Linked DNA regions of Homo sapiens: region 1 is linked to region 2. The links are contacts of gene promoters, found by promoter capture Hi-C in blood cells and fetal thymus (Javierre and others, 2016). All regions are on one chromosome and are shown on one strand. Each heading gives the region's core, a stretch centred on a gene start or on the middle of the fragment in contact. The rest is flanking DNA. Distances are from core to core; before and after follow the strand shown. Region 1 overlaps SYNJ1 (synaptojanin 1). Region 2 holds the start of LINC01548 (long intergenic non-protein coding RNA 1548).

Region 1 (5,185 bases), core at 640-3,139, 520 kb after region 2:
CACATTTACTTCTTGTAGTTCTAGATATGTTTTCTTCCAATCTGTAAAGTCTTATTTTCCAAGTTCATCTTTCTTCTTCTTCTTGGGACGTACATAGCACTATTAATTAGAATGTATTTTGGCCAGGTGCGGCAGCTCATGCCTGCAATCACAGCACTTTGGGAGGCTGAGGAGGGTGGATTGCCTGAGGCCAGGAGTTCAAGACCAGCCTGTCCAACATGGCGAAACCCTGTCTCTACTAAAAGTACAAAATTTAGCTGGGCGTGGTGGTGCATGCCTGTAATCCCAGCTACTCAGGAGGCTGAGGCAGGAGAATCGCATGAACCCAGGAGGCAGAGGTTGCAGTGAGCCGAGATTGTGCCACTGCACTCCAGCCTGGGCAACAGAGCGAGGCTGTCTCAAAACAAAACAAAACAAAACAAATTTATTTCACATCATATTGTGTTTATTTTGCGTATACTTTAAATGTATTTACCATTCTTCCATTCAAATATTAAGACCTTTACAAATGTTAATTTATATTCTTATTGGATAAATACCCAAATTAGTATTGTTGGTGTATGGTTTAGTCCCAATAATTAAAGTTGAGGTAAAAAAGTAGAAGTTCCAAAAGGGTATTCTAAGAACAGAAATGAATTTAAGTAATTACGCCGAAAATTTCCTTAAACATGATTTAAAAATGCATTTGTTTGATGGCAACATTATCAAAAGAAAAAATTTTTAAATGCATTTGTTTTCTAACACAATATGCTATTCTAGCCAGTTTTTCATTAAAATGCATACCTTAGATTATAATAATATTGTAATGCCCTGTATAGCTAGGTACCACATTTAAGAGTTGAACGTCTTACAAGGTTATCTCATTTTCACATTATCTGTTCATTTGTTTACTCAGTCCACACATATTTATGTAGTACCTTTATGCCAGATACAGCTGGGTGCTGGAGATTCGACAGCTGTGGTTCTTGCCTTTCCAGAACTCATAGCTTATTGGGTGTTACGTGTAAGTAAGCAGGCAATTATAATAAAGTGACATAAATGTGATAATGAATGGTTTTGTGGTAGCTCATGGGAAAGTTGCTTAACCTGGATTTGGGAAATTGGGCAAGCTTTCCCAGAGGAATTGAAATTTAAGTTGAGAATCCAAAGACTCAGGGAGAATGGAATTAATGCTATAGAGGAGTGATCCAAGAAGAAAGCATGTGCACAGTCTAAGTGGGGATAAAGAGGATCCAAATGGATTATGGAGGGATGTTTGTGAGGGAGTAAATGAAGAAAAGAAATGCAGAGAGAGAAGTAGGTGTGGGATGGAAGATGAATTTTGTTTCGGATATGTTGAATTTGAGATGTTCATGGAGTCAGTCAAACATGAGTCTGGTGCTCAGGAAAGAGCTCTGGAGTCAAGGCAGCTCTAATAGCCTGCAAAGCATGGGCATTTGTTAATATAACTTTGGCCAATAGGATTATGACGAGACAGAAGAGAATGAATCGAATATGGAGAAATACAGACCTGGGATTGAGTATGTGGAAACACAGAGTTTAAATATAGACAGAAGAAGGCTGCCCGTGAAAAGAAAATGAGAAGAAACAATGGCAATTGTTTCTAGAAATGTCAAAGAGCCAAGAGAAATTCATGGCTTAAAAATCAAGGAAAGAAAGTGGAGCATGGAAGGGGAGTAGTCAGTGGTGTCTTGTAACACAGAAAGATGAGAAGAAATGAGGACAGAAATGTGTCCTTCTGATTTAATAACAGGAAGGGAAGCTGTTGTTGACATTTCATGAGAGTGATCTCAGAAGTGATGAAGTCAGATAGTGGTAAATTGATATGGATGGAAGGTGAAGAAGTGGAGAAAAGTGTCTGTAGACAACTCTTTAAGAAAGTTTGGGGGGAAAGAGAAGAGGGCAATTGCTCTAGGAAGATTGGAGGTCCTAGGGTGGTGGTTTTGGATGGGACAGGCTTGAGAATGCACAGTGCTAATGGAAAAGTAGAGGAGAAAGGGCTGATGGTTTGGGGGAAGGGCAAGGCAGAATAGTAGAGCAGTGTCACTGAGAAAATTAGGCTGGGTGGGGCCCATTTGTTCCATCCTCAGATACCCAAGTGACAACCATGTAATGAGACTCCAGCTTGGGGGCAGGCTGTTGAAGTAGGGGTTCCCATCTTAAGACTTCCCTCTTCTCTGTGAAGTGTTGAAGTGATCTGCAGGAGTGGGACAGCTCACAGTTTCAGGAGGGTTAAGGAGTTTTGCAGTAAAGCTCCTGAAGAGCAAAGGGTGAGGGGAAGAGCAAACCAGCAAATCATGGAATTGCCAGGCACTTTAGGCCAGAAGAGACTGAAAAGCATAATTTCAAATGTGACTGCAGTTGTCAGGACTGGGTGGTTTTCTTTAGCAGAGGCAGTCAGCAATCCAAGTGTTATCACAGAAAGATTAAACAGGGGAATCAGTGCAGGGATGGGGTTATGTCAAGCACGTGCAATGGAAGAAGAGTGAAGTAGGGTAATGTTTGAGATGAAGAACCATAGAATCTGAAGGTAGGTACAGAAGAAAGCAGAATCAGATGGAGGTAAAAGTTAGAGGGATCAAACCCTGGCTTCTGAAGAAATCAAAAGAGAAGGAGTAGCCAAGGGAGAGAACTGAAAAGCTGGGAGGCCAAAGTCAGAGTGAAGCTTTTGAGTTTATTATTTCAGAAGAGTGCAGTTCTGAGGGGTGAGGGTTAGGAGTGAAGGCGAATGTCCATAAGGATAGGACCAAGGCATTTTGCTATTGAACGAGTTGTCCACATGGACTTTGATGCCACGCAGAAAGATGGTGCGGGACCTGACTTACAGTCTTGCTCTCTGCTTAGTCCTCAGTGAGTGGGTTCAGGAAATGGAAGAATGGACGTTGGAGATGACTGTAGCAAGTGGGGGTAGAGGATGTTACATAAATTCCTGATGGCATAGCCTCAGAGCAGTAGGACTTTTTGTTCAGGGTTGGAAGACTAATGTTCTGGAATGGCAGTTAGGTTGCAAGGGTTACCTTGTGCCCACTTTCCTACCCAGAAGTAAGTGGAGATGAGGAGACCCTGGGGGAGAACCAGTGTTTACTTAATTAAAGCAAAGCGGGTCTTTGTGGGGTGAGGGTTGCAGGGAGGAGCCTTCTGGGGGAAGACTGTGTGGCTCCTGAGAGCTTGTTGACTCTGAGGCTGGACCTGGGTTAGGCAAGGGAGTGGGGCAGTTCCACAGAGCACAGTGGACAGGTTTGGAAGGAGAGCAGGAAACTTGAGTTGGCTTGCACTGGAGAAGCTGCTCTGGGGCATATTGAAAGCCCATTGGGTCACCCCAGCTCCAAGTGGTTGGTCACCTGACATCTTATTGCTCAGAGACAATAGATACCTTTACATCTTCTGAAACAAGCATTTCTACTAATTGTGGTTTTATACATGCCTTCATGCTTAATCCATGTGTGTTTGCAATGACATAATGTTCATATTTGTTTTGTGTATTTTAACTTTTTAAAACCTAAGGTGAAAAAAATCTCTGAGCAAGTTAAAATGGAGTTATCTCTGATCAAGCCTGCTTTTCCTTAGGTGATGTTGATGACTATAGTGCTGAAGTGGAGGAACTTCTTCCTCAGCATCTCCAGCCATCTTCAAGTTCCGGCCTTGGTACTTCCCCCAGCTCTTCACCCCGAACTAGTCCCTGCCAGTCACCTACAATATCAGAGGGTCCTGTACCTTCCCTTCCCATCAGACCAAGCCGAGCACCGTCAAGAACTCCTGGGCCTCCCAGTGCACAGAGTATGCATTTTATTTGAAAGTTTTGTATGGCTTCCTGTGGCCAATGTGCTTGATGTTGGAGAGTCATCGTTTAAGTTTCATACCTAGGTGATAAAGTGCACCCTGTTTTCTCCGGTACAGAATAGGAAAACTTGTAGATGATAAGCTCTCAATGGAAAGGAAACTTGCTATAACTGTCACTAGATGACAATTGTTCTTAATCTTTTTTCTATGTGGTTAGGTTTGTCTATGTCTTATAACTGATGATTTTCTATGGTATGAACCCGTTAACTATTTGAGCTTTTTCTTCTCTCTACTGGCCAGACTACAAAATGGCTTAACTCAAACAATACTTTGTGCATATCAATAGGGCCACTTAGTAAATTAGCTTTCAGCACCTGAGGCCTAGGTAAGAAGTCAGCACAGAGGTAGCATTATTGCTGCCATGGTACCAAAGGGCAGTTTAATAGTAGACTGCTTTTGTTATTCATACTGAAAATACATGCCCTTTCTTTACACCATTGTGCACATTTTATAGAACATTACACATATATATGAAGGACTGTTCCCTTCTGTCAACAGCTACTTAGAAGCTGATCTTCTTACCTCCTGTGCGCTTTTTAGGTTCTCCTATTGACGCGCAGCCAGCAACGCCGCTGCCGCAGAAAGACCCCGCCCAGCCCTTGGAGCCCAAGCGGCCGCCGCCGCCCCGCCCGGTCGCCCCTCCCACACGCCCGGCTCCCCCACAGAGACCTCCTCCGCCTTCAGGTGACAACCTTTTATTTCCATTTCTGCTAGATGTAAAATTCTTCACTCTATTTTAAAATGTTTTGCATGTTTTCCAATCTCTAGCTTCTGGATTTTACAGTTTTTTCTATCATTATTGCTATTTCTTAGCTTTTCTCTAAAGAACATGGTAGGCGCAACAGACAAGGTAGAGTGTTTGCAGAGTAGATTCCTCTAAGGTGTTTTCACAGCTGCCTTTAGCTGCCTTCTCACCAGCCAGCCAGAGAGGTTTATTTTGTTTTTGCTAATTTGATCTAGTTAGGCATGTAAACTGTTCTTAGGTAAAATTAGGTTTAATTTTTTTCAAAATCCTCATTTCTGGATGATTTATAAGCATAAAATAATTAAAATGTACTAATTTCTGTAAAAGTATAATAAAACTGGAGAGCATACGTATTAATGTACAATTGTATGTATTTGTTTAATGTTCTTTTAAATTAAATATAGTGCTGTTACTTCAATTATAAGCATATGCATTGAATAATAGTTTTTGTAGTACGTAGATAATATGTAATTCCTGCATGATACTTGATGTCATGGATACTATAGCAATCTTTGACATTTCACTTCTGTATTTAATGTCATTTCCTTTCTGCTGCCTATTTTCTTATGAACTATAAGGGGCTAGGAGTCCTGCACCCAC
Region 2 (4,983 bases), core at 2,083-4,582:
ACGGGGTTTCACCATGTTGGCCAGGATGGTCTCGATCGCCTGACCTCGTGATCCGCCTGCCTCGGCCTCTCAAAGTGCTGGGATTACAGGCGTGAGCCACCTTGCCCGGCCAGAAGATGTTTTTTTTAACAAGAAAACAGCATCATCAAAAGTAAGGGCATATACATTTACCCCCTCTGCCTCACATTTTGTGCAAGACTACTTGAAGTAATGGAATTTTGCTAGAAATTTCTTGTTAATGTCTTCCCTTACATTCTGCAAAATGTTCCCAAGAACTGCTGAAATACTGTTAGGATTGTTGACTACTTTTTTTTCTTTGTAATCAGTTTCTATTGAAGAAGAGTCATTGAATTAGCGGGGTAATTTACTATCACTCATTTTTGGCAGCCTTGAGCGTGTATTTGCAGAACCACGAGATAACGGCAAAGAAAGTCCTTGGACACAGGCTCTGTGAGCATCACATCTCTCCAACTGGACCCGTGGGCGCTGCAGTGAGCATATATGTCCTAAAGGGATATGGCACCAACCTTGTGAATTGTTTGCTTGTGTTTTTCTAACATTTCTACTACTTAGTTTCAATTACATTTTTCCTAGCATGGAGTAATAAAAACCTTTTATAAAGGACAATTTCAAGCATATTTTTGAAAATTAATTTCAAAAGTAGACAGTATAGTTTTATGAATTTCTATGTCCCCACTAGCCAGTTCCAACAATTATTCCCACACAGCTGGTCTTGTCTCATCTATAATCCCAGTCTGCTAAGGTATTTTGAAGCAAATCCAGACTTTATATTATTCTATCCATAAGTATCTTAGAAGATAAAAGAAAATGACTTTTAAAAAACAATAACAATGTAGAACAAAGGACATTTATTTTGGATCCTGGCTTGTGGATGGGAGATAATTCCAGAATTATTTTGTCACTATTTACTTGCTACCTGGGCTGTGCTTGCCCCATTCAACAAAAGAGTGTACATTAGCTATTCTGTTTCTATGCTCTGGTCCTGTATTTTGAAAAGAGGGTTTATGTATTCAACAGATATTTGCTAATTCCTACTACAAGCCAGGACTGTGCTATGCACTGGGGATTCAGAGATAAAACACCCAAACTGGGAGAGAATCAGAAAAATCAGCCTCAATACAAACATAAATATAAATACAGCCTGATCCACTTTATGGCAGTGTTAAGTACAGGTTGTTTTGTGTCTGAGATGTATTTCTTTCTCTTGCCCACAATTTAAAAAGCCACCTTGATTGTGATTACATTTCAAGTGTTAATTAGGAATCAATTTAGGCCATATAATATGTAGCCTATTTTAGGTATCTAAGGTTTATCAGAAATTAACTCATTAACTAACGAAGATGCCTTTATCAGCGCCTGCAACTCCAGTGAAACAGTTTGAATTGTTTCCCTTCAATTTCCTCCCCAACTCTGCACTCACTGCTCTGATTTGGTAGCGGAAACACATCAAATGAGTTCTGTTCTTGCAAGTGAGGAAGGGACAAGAGAGGGGACACAAGATGAAAGGCAGGGAGGAGGAGAGTCTCCCAATCTCAACCTCTGGGAGTTTCACGCTTATCATCTGGGGTCCAGTTGGCATGCGGCCAGTGGGCGGTGGCAGCGGCCTCCTTGGGGCAGGAGTTCCTCACTCTTTTTCCTCCATTTGTCTCCTTGGGTCCCTGGCACCTGCTGAGTGAGAAGCCCAGATCTGTATTAGAAGCTGCTGCTCTCTGGCCCAAGAAGGGCAGCGGCCTCTGGATTAGGGAATGGAGGGATGGCTGTTCCCGGGATCACCCCTCTCCCTCTGCCTGTGTGCAGCCTTGTGTGCTCAACCCTGCACCCCAGGGGCCCTCAGACTACTATCATGAGGCCCAGGCCTTGAGCTGCAGAGCTGGTTAATTAGCGCTGGAGCCCAGGAAGCCCCATCTGTTCCCAGCACTTGTGTTGCTCTGATCTCTCCATTTCCCTGACTCCCAGGCCAGGGAGAGTTCTTGTCCTCCTACCCTGCAATCCCTGGAGATGCGCTCCCCCCAACCGCAGCCCAAAGTGCCTTTTCATGGGGCTGTAAGGCAGCTGTCACGAGGTAAATCCCACTCTTTACCCCGCCAGCAGGACAGGTAGGGACAGGTGGGAGGAATACGGGAGGAAACAGCTCCCACTGGTGACTGCCGGACCCTCTCCTCGCTGGCCGCAGACCCTGGAGCCACTTCCCTACCGTATCCAGAGCAGGCCCAGCCCCCGACAAAGGGACCTTTATATGGTGGTCCTGGAATTTTAGTTGGGTTCCCGTAAATGCAGACCCTGACAAGGTCTTGGGCACAGGAGGTTTATCTGAGGGGACTCCAGGAAGCAGGAGTCAGGGAGAAGGAAGCAGGAAACAGAAGTAGACGTCATTACTGAGATTGCTGCTGGAGGCAACAGGGGTCTTGAAGGTAAGAAACATGTCCTTACGGGAGAAGCTGCCTTGGTGGGTTTGGAAAGTGTGAAGAGTTCGCAGGCGTGCTCATCATCAACTAAGTGGACAGGTGAAAGCTGGAGGGGCTCTGCAGAAGCCCTGAGTTGCACTAAAATCTGTACTAATCCAAATAGTGGGTCTAGATTCCCTCTCCTACTCAAAATGACTTTAACTCCTCCAATTTAGCAAATATTGGTTGAACATCTCCTACTGTATTTAATGGAATGTAAGAGATCATTGACTATAAGGCACGCCATTATTTTAAGAGGCTCTAAGAAAAGAGCTTCCAACTCAGCTATGACACTCTATGAAAAGTAAGACTTTCCTAGGTCAGAAGCACAGAAGTGTAAAAAGAATGTTGGTCTCGGGATGGGTACCATGTGCACTGTAGCTTAATGGGCATAGTGGGGCATTGTGACATAGAAACTGCCCTTGCTCCCAGCAGAGGAGAAAAAGCGTGTAAAGCAATGTCAGTGATAACAAGCAAAAATAGGACAGGGGAGAAAGCCAAGAGTCTTCAGACCACAAGAGAAGGAGAGATTAATTCTGGTAGGGAGGTATCAAGGAGGCCTTCCTGGATGAGGGGGTGGCATCTGAGCTGGGCTCAGGAAAAGGTGGGGCTTGAACTATTGGGGATGAAGGGAAAGGCATTCCCGGCAAGTGGGAACAGCACAGGCAAAGGCTCTGAGAGGTCCTAGAAATAAAGTTATTGCACTTCAAGGGGGTTGTAAGATTTATGGGTGAGGATAAGGAAAAAGTAGAGAATTAGAAAAGCAGTGAACTTACCCCTTTACCCAGAAATCCCCCTCCTAAGTGCATGGCCAAGAGAAATTTGCCCTCAAGTGCACCTTTTCCCTTTAGGAAAATCCACCTGGATGGACAGCAGCAGAGGGAGGAGGAGGCAGGACAGACCAGAAGAGAGACAATGAGGTTCTGAACCTAGATGTTGGCCAAGGGAGCAGAGGAGGGCAGGTGAATGGCGCTATAGGGGATACTGTAGCAGGAGGGTTGACTGGACTCAGCAACTGGGGAGGGAGTAGGCAAAAAGAGAGCCTGGGAACTTAGGACAAGAAGCAGGGTATTTTTTTTTTTTCAAGGGAGAGGTAAGCAACAATGATTTACTTGTTCTTACACATGGAACTCTCCAGGGCACTACACCTGCATTTAAATCACTTGGCTCCTGGCACATGGCTCTCCTCCCATTTCTCTTTCTGTCCACTCCCTCTTCATTTGTCCTCTGCCCTCTTCGTATGACTGTTCCTTGGGGCCCTGTCTCCAGGTCAGGAGGCCCTCGCCCTGCAATCACCCTTCCTGGGAGCCTTCACTTCACCTGTGATCTCAAGACCTCTCCCTACTGCCTGACTCGCGCCGAGCTTATGGAACATCTTCCCTTGAGGGTCGCAGTCCATTCGATGAGGTATTTTCCCCATGAAATCCCTTATCTTTGGGAACCTCTTCTTTTCCTTGTGCGTCCTATGTGGGTGGATGGAGAACCACTCTCCACGTGGTTACTCGGTCCAGAAGGGCGGCTGTCTGTACAAATGCGCCTCTTCCTTTCACTTCCTCTATCCAACCAGCTTCTTCTGCCCACCTCCCTTTCATGCTCCTTTCACGCTCCTTTCACATGCTCTTGGCTCACCGTTTTTTTCTTTAAGTTTTTAGAGACAGGGTCTCGCTCTATCACTCAGGCTAGGGTGTGCTGGCACGACCATGGCTCACTGCAGCCTTGACCTCCTGGGCTCAAGCTATCCTCCTGCCTCAGCCTCCTGAGTAGCTGGGACCACAGGCACGCACCACCATGCCTGGCTAATTTTTTATGTTTTGTAGAGACAGGGGTCTCTTTCTTGCCCAAGCTGGTCTTGAACTCCTGGCCTCAAACAATCCTCCTGCCTTGGCTTCCCAAATTGCTGGGATTGCAGGAGTTTGCCACTGCGCCTGACCTGGCTCGCCTTTTTTGCTCCTGGGCGTTGCTCTGACAACCGCAACAAGCTGTCACCTGACAGCTGTGGCAGTGGGTATCTGCTGTGGCAGGCTTTCTGTCCAAGCCTGCGGGGACTTGCTTAGCTATACTGGCTTGTGTGTAAACTTGGAAGCTCAAGGGAGGTGGCTTTCCTTGGGGGAAAACTTTGACCAATAGGGGCAGGAGCTGATGAGCTCATCTGTCTTCCATCCATGTCTTGGGTGGACAATTCTGAGGCATCTTTCACACGCTTCCTCAGGGGGTCTCCAGGGGATCCAGTCCCAGCAGCCCATGGAGGTAACCAGGCCAATAACACCACACTGGGATGCTTCTTTCTCCTCCCACTATTTTTAAAATTTTTAATTTTTAAAACTTTTTGTTGAGATGCGGTCTCCCTGTGTTGCCCAGGCTGGTCTTGGCCTCCTGGCCTCAGGCGATTCTCCTGCCTTAGCCTCTCAAAGTGCTGGGATTACAGGTGTGAGCCACCACACCAAGCCCACCTCCCTCTTTCACTCCTCCCAGCCCCCATTGCTGTTACTTGGCATCAATTCCTAAACAGCCTGCACAT

The links. Contacts are between HindIII fragments. The CHiCAGO score rates a contact against its expected background, and 5 or more counts as called.
Region 1: a fragment that was not itself captured here is called in contact with the fragment with the promoter of LINC01548 in region 2 in 2 of 17 cell types (naive B cells and total B cells); the score reaches 5.8 in naive B cells.

Annotation. Positions count from the first base shown.
Region 1 is chr21:32,644,985-32,650,169 of GRCh38, reverse strand. SYNJ1 (synaptojanin 1) reads left to right here. Exons shown (of 33, transcript NM_203446.3): 24 at 3,568-3,777; 25 at 4,381-4,524; 26 at 5,164-5,185. Among named protein-coding and RNA genes, the nearest start is that of CFAP298-TCP10L, 35 kb to the right of the region's middle. The HindIII fragment of the contact is 1,556 bases long and covers 1,112-2,667 here.
Region 2 is chr21:33,168,585-33,173,567 of GRCh38, reverse strand. LINC01548 (long intergenic non-protein coding RNA 1548) reads left to right here and starts at 3,332. Exons shown (of 4, transcript NR_024102.1): 1 at 3,332-3,427; 2 at 3,735-3,872. LOC105372787 (a long non-coding RNA gene) reads left to right here. Exons shown (of 3, transcript XR_937675.3): 3 at 388-627. RefSeq lists an enhancer at 4,051-4,120. The HindIII fragment of the contact is 7,514 bases long and covers 1-4,983 here.